2 separate regions of the Homo sapiens genome follow, and region 1 is linked to region 2. Evidence: promoter capture Hi-C in 16 types of primary human blood cells and fetal thymus (Javierre and others, 2016). All regions are on one chromosome and are shown on one strand. The core of a region is centred on a gene start or on the middle of the fragment in contact, and the rest is flanking DNA. Distances in the headings are between cores, read along the strand shown.

Region 1 (4,995 bases), core at 1,319-3,818, 810 kb after region 2:
TTTGTGGGCTGTGGTTTTAAATCAGTTATATTTCAGAGACTTTGGTCTTTGTTTATCTATGAGGGCTGGGAATCCCACTCCCTGCTGGTGCTGTTTGAGGGACGGAACAGGTTCTCCCAGGTTGGGCTATGGAGTGTCTCTTGGAGTAGGATGGGAATCTCAGGCCAGTGGGGACAAAGAGGTTTCCTGGGCTGGGCTACTTGTCATAGTGACATCCTTCTGCTGGCTCTGCCCACCCACCAGGCAGGCAGGGAATCTCAGCACAGAGGGGTCTCTTGTTTGTATTTTCACTAGACTGTAGACCTGTGGAGGTAAGACCAAGTCTGGCTCTAGCTCCAGTGTGAAGCACAGAATACAATGTGTAACAGGGTGTGTGTGCTGGGCTGGCTGTGCTATTGTTCTCCAACACCCAAGACCTCTTTGCAATTTGGCTTATTCATATATCTCATATGGGTAACGAAATGCAAGCAGGAAAGAGTATCACTTATAGGTGAAGGCTTTGAGGGCCAGGAGAACCTTTGCTTCACACTCTTTCCTGTGTCATCATCACTGACAATGTTTCAGATGGTAGCTGTTCCATCAACCCACATCTCAGAGTCCCAGAGTAAGAATGCAGACAGCTTGAAGCAGAATCCCTGCAGATCTTGGACGGCATATTACGTGAGTGAGCAGGAAACTTTGTATGTGAATTGCAGCAATTTGGGAAGTTGTTTGTCACCACAGCATCACCTGGCCTATCCTGCAGTGAATTTTGCTTAAAGGAGAAAATGAAGAGGCAAATTTTGTTGGCTCTGGAGAGTACTAGAAATGTATAAAACCACATATCTTAAAAATTACATTCATTAAACATTTTAGTAATTCAGCTTGTATCCTCTTGTTAGACATTAACAATTGGGGTTTTACTCTAGGGAAATGAGAAACCACAGTTTGGTTTGACAGCATCTGTCTGCATTAGAGTACCTTGGTGGTCTGTGAAGACATTTGCAATATAGACTGTTTACAGTTAAAGAGAATTGCGGGGGTCTGGATATTTTCAATTGCCAGAGAAAAGCTTTCCTTCTGTCTGCGCCTCCAGGATGGATTCTAACATTAAGGATTATTGACTTGGTGGCTTTGTGCTTATCCCCAAATTATTTCTGTTCATAGATTTTGCATTTCTTTGTCATTCTTCTGTAAATTTCTGTCTCCATCCTATAGCGTTGTATTGAGTTCTCCATAGGCCAGTAATGGAATCAGCTTATCTTGAACCAGACCGTAATACAGCCTCTGGGTGTGAACAAGGCCACAAGCAAGGAAACTGAATACATCCTAGAGGAAGGAAATTGAGTTTCTGCTGAGGACGTTTAGGTAACATCACAGCACTTGTGTTATTGCTGGATGATGTTTCTTAGATTAAGCTGGCCTTGACACTTTCTCCAATGCTTTTAATACGATTTATTACTGAGGAAAAGATCTGGTCATTTAATAAAGATGCAGAAATACTTTCTGTCAAATTGTAAGGAAGCAATCCGTGTATTTTTGCAATATTGAATTGGTGAAAGTGAAATCACTTTAAAATGAAATTAGAGTGACTCATACACCCCCTGAATCATGGAAATACAGAGACCTGTGGCCAGTTAAACCCCTGAAACAAATTATCCATCCATGGCTGTCCCTAAGCACCCTTTTCTATTAAGGAGACACCTATAGCATCCAGCCTATTGTCTTTTTTATCTTTCTAGCTTTATTTTCTGCTTCCTGTCACCTACTTTTTATACTTGACATTTCAGTGTCCCTAAATCTAGCAATAGAATAGTTTTTTCCTCTGTACATATTGGTCCTTTTCTGCTGTTCTGATCAAGGCATACTGTAGACTTTTTATTTTAAGAATTGTATTATTCTCCAGATAGTTTTCAAGTCTATTGTATAGCTAGACAGAGGGATATGGGGCTAGATTATGTTACAATGCCATAAACCCTCTGTTCTTTCCCACTTTCAGCAGTTTTTCTGGAACAAACTCTCCTCAGATTACTGTAAACCTTTGGTTAATTTCAAGATCTCTTAAATAACTGATTTTTTGACAATTTTGGCTACTGTGTTTATTGCTCTGATGGAAAGGTAGATTCATAGGGATTGTCAACCTACTATTCTGGTGGTAAAATTTTAATAAGTTAAATTATAAGGGAATGTACCCACAAAGATAGTGCATTTTATTTAATAAAAAATTGTTGAGCAGCTAGTATTTACTGGGCAGTGGCCTAGCCACTGAAGATTCAAGTGTGGGAAAGAAACACTTTTGCTCACATTTAGCATTTGCTAACAGAAAGTTTACCATTTTCAAAGGAAATAGACTCGCAGATAGGAAGAAGTAAGCTGAGGAAGGAAATAAGTCTTCCTCTTCAGGACTAAAAAAGGGACAGTTGGCCAGAGAATGGAGTAAAGAGGCTGACACATCCACTTCCATTTACATTTTGGCCAAGCCAGAGAATAAAAACCGTAAGGTCATTGTGAGAGTCCTTCCACATTAAACTTTGCCCCAAATTTTCCATTTTTCACTTTATTTCTCTTAATTTCCATCTGGAGAATAATAAAAGAATCAAATGGCAACTGTAGAGCTAAAACTATCTTAAGTTTTAGCTTAAGATAAGATGAGGCCAGGTGCAGTGGCTCATGCCTGTAATCCCAGAACTTTGGGAGGCCAAATCAGGTGGATTACCTGAGGTTAGGAGTTCAAGACCAGCCTGGCCAACATGGAGAAATCCCATCTCTACTAAAAATACAAAAAATTAGCCAGGCGTGGTGGCAGGTGTCTATAATCCCACCTACTTGGGAGGCTGAGGCAGAAGAATTGCTTGAAGCTGGGAGGCAGAGGTTGCTGTGAGCCAAGATCACACCATTGCACTCCAGCCTGGATGACAGAGCAAGACTCTGTCTCAAAATTAATTAATTAATTAATCAAAACATAAATAAAACTATCATAATGAAATGTAAAATTTCTTAGAGGGTTTCAACAGAAGATTTAATCTTACAGAAGAAAGAATCAATGAGTTTGAAAATAGGTCAATTCAGATTATGCAGCCTGGGAAACAGAAATATATAAAAGAATGAAGAAAAATTAACAGTCATAAATACCTATGGGACACCATCAAGCACACCAACCTACCCATAAAGGCAGTCCAAGAATGAGAGAAATGAGAAAAAGGAGGAGAAGGAATACTTGAGGAAAACAATGACCAAAACATCCCAATTTTGATGGAAGCATTTATGTTCATATCCAAGAATATCAAATTAGATAAACTGAAAGAAATCTACACTTACACATATAATAGGCAAAACTGTTAAAAGACAAATAAGGAATACTGAAGACAGAGAAAAATGACTCATTACATGCAAGTGATCTATAATAAGATTAATAGCTAGCTTTCCATAAAAAAATCATAGAGATGAGAATGCAATGAAATGACATATTCAAAGTGCCAAAAGAAAAAGAATGTCAATCAAGAATTCTATATCCAGCAAAACTATCTTTTATATATAAAGGATAAATTAAAGCTGCTGTAGATTTTAAAAAACTGAGGCCAGGTGTGGTGGCTCATGCCTGTAATCCCAGCACTTTGGGAGGCTGAGGCAGGAGGATCACTTGAGGTCAGGAGTTTGAGACCAGCCTGGCAGACATGGTGAAACCCCATCTCTACTAAAAATTAGCTGGGTGTGGTGGCAGGTACCTGTAGTCCCAGCTACGTGGGAGGCTGAGGCAGGAGAATCATTTGAACCTGCAAGGCAGAAGTTGCAGTGACCTGAGATCACACCACTGCACTCCCACCTGGGCAACAGAGCAAGACTCTGTCTCAAAAAAACCCCAAAAACAAAACTGAGAAAGTTCAGTGGTAGATGACCTGCTCCCCAAGAAACACTGAAGGAAGTATTGCAGGCTGAAATTAAGTGATATTTATTAGTAACTTGAATCCGCATGAGTTTGTAACACTTTACTTTCTGATTTAAAAGACAACTCCACATAGCAATAATTATAAAACTTTGTTGATGAGCTTTTAATGTATATAGTTTCCATGATGCACAATGAAAGGAGAATGGAGCTATATTTAAATGAAGCTTTTGAATACCATTACAATTAAGTTAGTTTAATCTGAAAGATATTGTTACTATGTTATTAACCACTCAAAAATAACTAAAAAAATACATAGTAAAAGGAACAACAAAGAAATTAAAGTTGTACACTAGAAATATATATTACTATAATAAGATATTAATGGGCATGTACAGGGACAGAAACCACATAAAGCATGTGGAAAACAAGTAGCAAAATGGCAGACATAAATCTCACCTTATCAGTAACTACATTAAATATAAATGATTAATTAATACATCAGGTAAAAGACAGTGACTGGCAGAAGAAATAATATAATCCAATTCTATTCTGTCTATAAGAGATACAGTTTAGATTTGAAAACCAAATACATTAAAAGTAAAATGATGGAAAAAGGGATACAATGCAAACAGTAGCCAAAATAGAGCTGAAGTGTCTATACCAATATCAAGAAAAATAGTTTTTAAGACAAAACTTGTTACTAAACACAAAGGATAAGTGACAAAGTGGTAGTGATCCCTCTGGAAAACACAATAATAATAAACATATCTGTACCTAACAACACAAATTTTAAAATACATGAAGCAAACTGACAGAAGGGAGAAATAGACAACTCAGCAATAGTTGGAAACTTTAATATCTCCCTTTCAATAGTGAATAGAACAACTAGGCTGAATACTAAGAAGGAAATAGAACATTTTAACAACACTGTGACACAAATAGACCTAATTGACCATTAGGTATATAAAGCATTAGGTAGACTATGCAAGAAAAAAAAAAGAGAAGACTCAAGTCTTAAAATAAAAAGCCAACCTCACAGAAATAAAAAGATTATAAGGGAAAGTATAAAGACTGTATGCCGGGCCTGGCACGGTGGCACACACCTATAATTCCAGCACTTTGGGAGGCTG
Region 2 (4,842 bases), core at 614-3,113:
AAAAGGATTTTGTAGTATGTTAACTAGGTTTGATGTTATTTTAAATCGATTTTTAAACTAAAAAATACATTAAAATATTTTTACTGATCTCTGATTCTTGGTTCTGAACCTTCCACATGTCCTATGTCTGGCACACAACATTAGCCCAAAGAGAGCAAAGCAGTCCAGTTAAATAAACCAAAGAAACAAGATTAAAACTAGATAAGGTCATGTGTAGGATTTTCCAAATCTTTCTTGTCATGCTGAAACTTCCAGCTCTTAAAACAGTAACACATATTTCCTTTGTCCTAAAAACCAATATTAAGTCTCCTTCCTTGGGCATAAGAATATGGATAGTTATACTTAGGTGACAGTAATGTGTGGTAAAGAGTGGGCCTTGCTGGCATGCGGACAATGACCAAATTGTATTGATCATATTTTAATCGAATACATTGCTCCACTACTGACTTGCAAATACATGATGAATTTGCTTTCTAACATATTCCAAGAAGGCCAGAGAACTGGCTTATCCATTTGGATTAATCCACTGGTGAATTTCTTTCGGGATAGGCCAAAATGGATCTGGACTATAATCTTTACATATTTAGATCCTTCAAACTAGACCAAAAAGGAAATCTGGGCTGCAAGGCTCAATTAGAAGAACAGTGTGGGATGCTGCTTTGCTGACTATTGGGGGTCGCTGCCCCATGTCTTCAGAGGAGACTGGAGCCCAGTGCCTGCCATGACCAACTTATGAGGTGAAGTAAGGGCTTCCCCCTAGGAACGCATGTGCTTAATACAGATGTGCTGTGTGCTAGGTACCCTAAGGACTACAGGAAATAATGAGAATACATGATGTGTCCATAACAAGGAGGCACACAGGCCACGGCACCAGCTCTGGAATCACACAGCCCAGGTTCGAAGCCTGGCTAGGCCACTGTCATATCAATGACCCAAGGAGCAAGCAGCCTAAGGCTTAAATGTTGTTGCTGTTGTTTGTTGTGGTTTTTTGTTTTTGTTTTTGTTTGAGACAAGAGTTTTGCTCTGTTCCCCCAGGCTGGAGTGCAGTGAGGTGATCTCAGCTCACTGCAACCTCCACCTCCCGCTTTCAAGCGATTCTCCTGCCTCAGCCTCCCTAGTAGCTGGGATTACAAGTGCGTGCCACCACGCTCAGTTAATTTTTGTATTTTTAGTAGAGATGGGGTTTCACCATGGTGGTCAGGCTGGTCTCGAACTCCTGACCTCAGGTGATCCACCCGCCTTGGCCTCCCAAAGTGCTGGGATTAAAGGCGTGAGCCACCGCGCCCAGCCTTAAATGTTGTTTAAAACAAATTTGTGAAAAGAAGTGAAGAGGCCCTGCCTGCCAGGAAGAGATGTGGTAGGGCGTAGCATCTAGTCAGGACAAGGCACCACGTCCCCTCCTCGGAAACCCTCACGGCCTGGCTGGTGACCCTGGCGCCACAGAGACGGCACACCTGGCTCCAGGCAGCACAGAGCACTGCCAAGGTCCTAGAGGAGGCTGGCAGGATATAGGTTGTCCTGTGCTTAACTTGAAGCAGATGTGCCCTCTGTGAACCGGGGAATGGGGACGGCCGACACAGGGCCACTGCGTGCAACAGCGCCGGGCCAGGGCTAAGGAACAGGCAGAGCCGGCGCCCAGGTGACAAGAGCTCTGGCGATGGGCCCGCAGGCCCCAGCAGTTCCCTCATAGAGGCCACGCGGTGCAACACCTGCCACCGGCAGCGGGGCTTCCGGGGGTCCTGGGGCAGCTGGGGCCGACGGGGCGTCGCCCTTTGCCCTCTGACCCCTGCCTTTTGCGCCCCCGCTGGCGCTCCCTGGTTCTGTGAGGAACCTCGCGGCGGCGTCGCAGGCGTAGAGCCAGTCAGTTTGTGCTTGGTCGCCAGAGGAGGCGGTGGCTGAGGAGAGTTGAGTCCACTGCTGACCCTGTTTTACGGTAGGAGGCACGGCTAGCTCTAAATGGGCAATTTACTTAGTAAATTTAGACCCGGGTGCCGCCGCCGGCCCCTGCCAGGGCCAGGGCGTGGCGCCCCCGCTCCCCTGTCCCGGGACGCCTCCCCGCCCGGTCGGGCTCACTCTGTACCCACCCCGCGCCCTTTCCGCGGCCTGTTCCGCCGGAACGCCCGTCGCAGGCCTTCAGCAGCCAGCATCTTCGTCGCCCCTAAGAGGCCGTGTCCTCTCCCTCGGGCTGCGGCCGCCCCTCTGGGGGTCCTGCCGGCTGTGGGTTGGGGGCTGGCCATCAGGAAGACACCCATGCTGCCTGCTCGGAACCCCCCGAGGTTTGGACACCCCAGTTCCGTAAGGATCCCTCCTCCCAGCCGCATGTTCACTCTCCTGCTGCCTTCACCACGTGAGCCGGCGGTCAAGGCCAGGAAGCCCATCCCAGCCACTCTCCTGGAGGAGACCGAGGTGTGGGCCCAAGAAGGGCCCAGAAGAGTGAAGAAGGATGAGGATCCGGTGCAGATCGAAGGGGAGGATGACGAGAAAAGGACCCCCCTTAGCAGCGGAGAAGCATCGTCCACATCCAGGTCCCAGGGCACCCAGGGAGACGTGGCCTCCTTCAGATGCAGCCCTGGGCCTCTGGAGGGAAATGTCTACCACAAGTTCTCAGAAAACAGCATGAGTGAGAAGGCCCAGGCGTCTCCAGCGAGCTCCTGCTTGGAAGGCCCTGCCATGCCCAGCACACACAGCCAGGCCGGATGTGCCCGGCATCTTGGAAAGCCTGATCCGGATGCAACAGCGCCCCCTGAGCCAGCCGTTGGCTGCTCCCTGCTGCAGCAGAAGTTGGCTGCGGAAGTGCTGAATGAAGAGCCACCGCCCAGCTCCCTAGGCTTGCCGATTCCGCTGATGTCCGGAAAGAGGATGCCTGATGAGAAGCCTTTCTGTATTCCTCCAAGGAGCGCTGCTCCTCCCAGAGCTGCCCGCAACAGGCCCTGCAAAAGGAAAATGTCGATTCCATTGCTGCTGCCGCTGCCCCCTTCACTGCCATTGCTGTGGGATCGAGGTGAGCTTCCCCCACCTGCTAAGCTCCCCTGCCTGTCTGTTGAGGGAGACCTACACACCTTGGAGAAGAGCCCTGAGTATAAAAGGAATAGCAGAATCTTGGAGGATAAAACAGAGACCATGACAAACAGCAGCATCACCCAGCCTGCCCCTTCTTTCTCCCAACCTGTGCAGACCACAGACTCCCTGCCCCTGACCACTTACACTTCCCAGGTCTCAGCTCCTTTGCCCATCCCTGACTTGGCTGACCTGGCTACTGGACCCCTCATCCTGCCTATCCCTCCACTTTCCACCACACCAAAAATGGATGAGAAAATAGCATTCACAATCCCTAACTCTCCTCTGGCTCTTCCTGCTGACCTTGTTCCCATTTTGGGTGATCAGTCTAATGAGAAAGGAGGCTCTTATAATTCAGTCGTAGGAGCAGCGCCTCTCACTTCTGACCCCCCAACACCTCCTAGCTCCACACCCTCCTTCAAGCCTCCCGTCACAAGGGAGTCCCCAATATCTATGTGTGTGGATTCCCCTCCTCCTCTTTCCTTCCTGACTCTTCTTCCAGTCCCTTCCACCGGGACCTCAGTTATCACCAGCAAGCCTATGAATTCCACGTCAGTCATTTCCACTGTCACAACAAACGCATCTGCCCACCTAACCTCACAGACTGCGGTAGACCCTGAAGTAGTTAATATGGATACTACTGCCCCATCTCAGGTTGTTATTTTCACATCTTCCCTAAGCTCCAGAGTGAGCTCTCTCCCAAATTCCCAAATACATTGCAGTGCAGAGCAGAGGCACCCGGGAAAGACATCAGTCTACACATCCCCACTTCCATTTATATTCCACAATACCACCCCAAGTTTTAACCAACTCTTTGGAAAAGAAGCCACCCCTCAGCCCAAATTTGAGGCTCCTGATGGGCAGCCGCAGAAAGCTTCTCTCCCCAGTGCCTGTGTTTTCCTGAGCCTTCCCATCATTCCTCCTCCAGACACCTCCACTTTAGTGAACAGTGCCTCTACAGCATCATCATCCAAACCTCCCATTGAAACCAATGCTATGCATACCACTCCTCCTTCCAAGGCTGTCATCTTGCAGTCTGCCTCTGTCTCCAAGAAGTACCTCCCATTTTACCTGGGGCTTCCTGGTTCTGGGAACACACAACCCAGCGGCAACACTGCCTCAGTCCAAGGCTCCACCAGTTTGCCTGCACAGTCAGTCAGGGCACCAGCTACAGCTTCCAACCATCCTTTAAATCCAGGAGCCACCCCTCAACCCAAATTTGGGGCCCCTGATGGGCCGCAGCAGAAAACCTCTCTCCCCAGTGCCCATGATTTCCTGAGCCTTCCTATCATGGTTCCTCCAGACACCTCCACTTTAGTGAGCAGTGCCTCTGCAGCATCGTTATCCAAGCCTGCCATTGACACCAGTGACATGAATACCACCCCTCCTTCCAAAACTGTCATCTTGCAGTCTACCTTTGTCTCCAGGAAGGAGGAGTACATCCGATTTTATATGGGGCTTCCTGGTTCTGGGAACACACTACACAGTGACAGCATTGCCTCAGCCCAAGTCTCCACCAGTTTTCCTGCACAGGCAGATAGGAGACCAACCACAACTTCCAGCCATCCTTTAAATACAGGATCCATCTCTCATTCCACACTTGGGGCCACTGATGGGCAGCAGAAGTCTGACAGTTCTTTTATTCTGGGGAATCCAGCAACCCCAGCACCAGTTATAGGCTTAACATCTCCTTCAGTCCAGCCACTGAGTGGCAGCATAATTCCACCAGGTTTTGCAGAGTTAACATCACCATATACTGCATTGGGCACACCTGTTAATGCTGAG

Evidence for each region. The method cuts DNA at HindIII sites, captures the fragments that hold promoters and counts their contacts. A CHiCAGO score of 5 or more calls a contact.
Region 1: a fragment that was not itself captured here is called in contact with the fragment with the promoter of NPAP1 in region 2 in 1 of 17 cell types (M2 macrophages); the score reaches 6.3 in M2 macrophages.

What each region holds. Positions count from the first base shown.
Region 1 is chr15:25,486,085-25,491,079 of GRCh38, forward strand. The region is part of intron 4 of LINC02250 (long intergenic non-protein coding RNA 2250); the gene reads right to left. Among named protein-coding and RNA genes, the nearest start is that of UBE3A, 50 kb to the left of the region's middle. The HindIII fragment of the contact is 3,038 bases long and covers 1,050-4,087 here.
Region 2 is chr15:24,673,912-24,678,753 of GRCh38, forward strand. It overlaps NPAP1 (nuclear pore associated protein 1), which reads left to right and starts at 1,864. Exons shown (of 1, transcript NM_018958.3): 1 at 1,864-4,842. The coding sequence starts at 1,957. The HindIII fragment of the contact is 3,995 bases long and covers 1-3,929 here.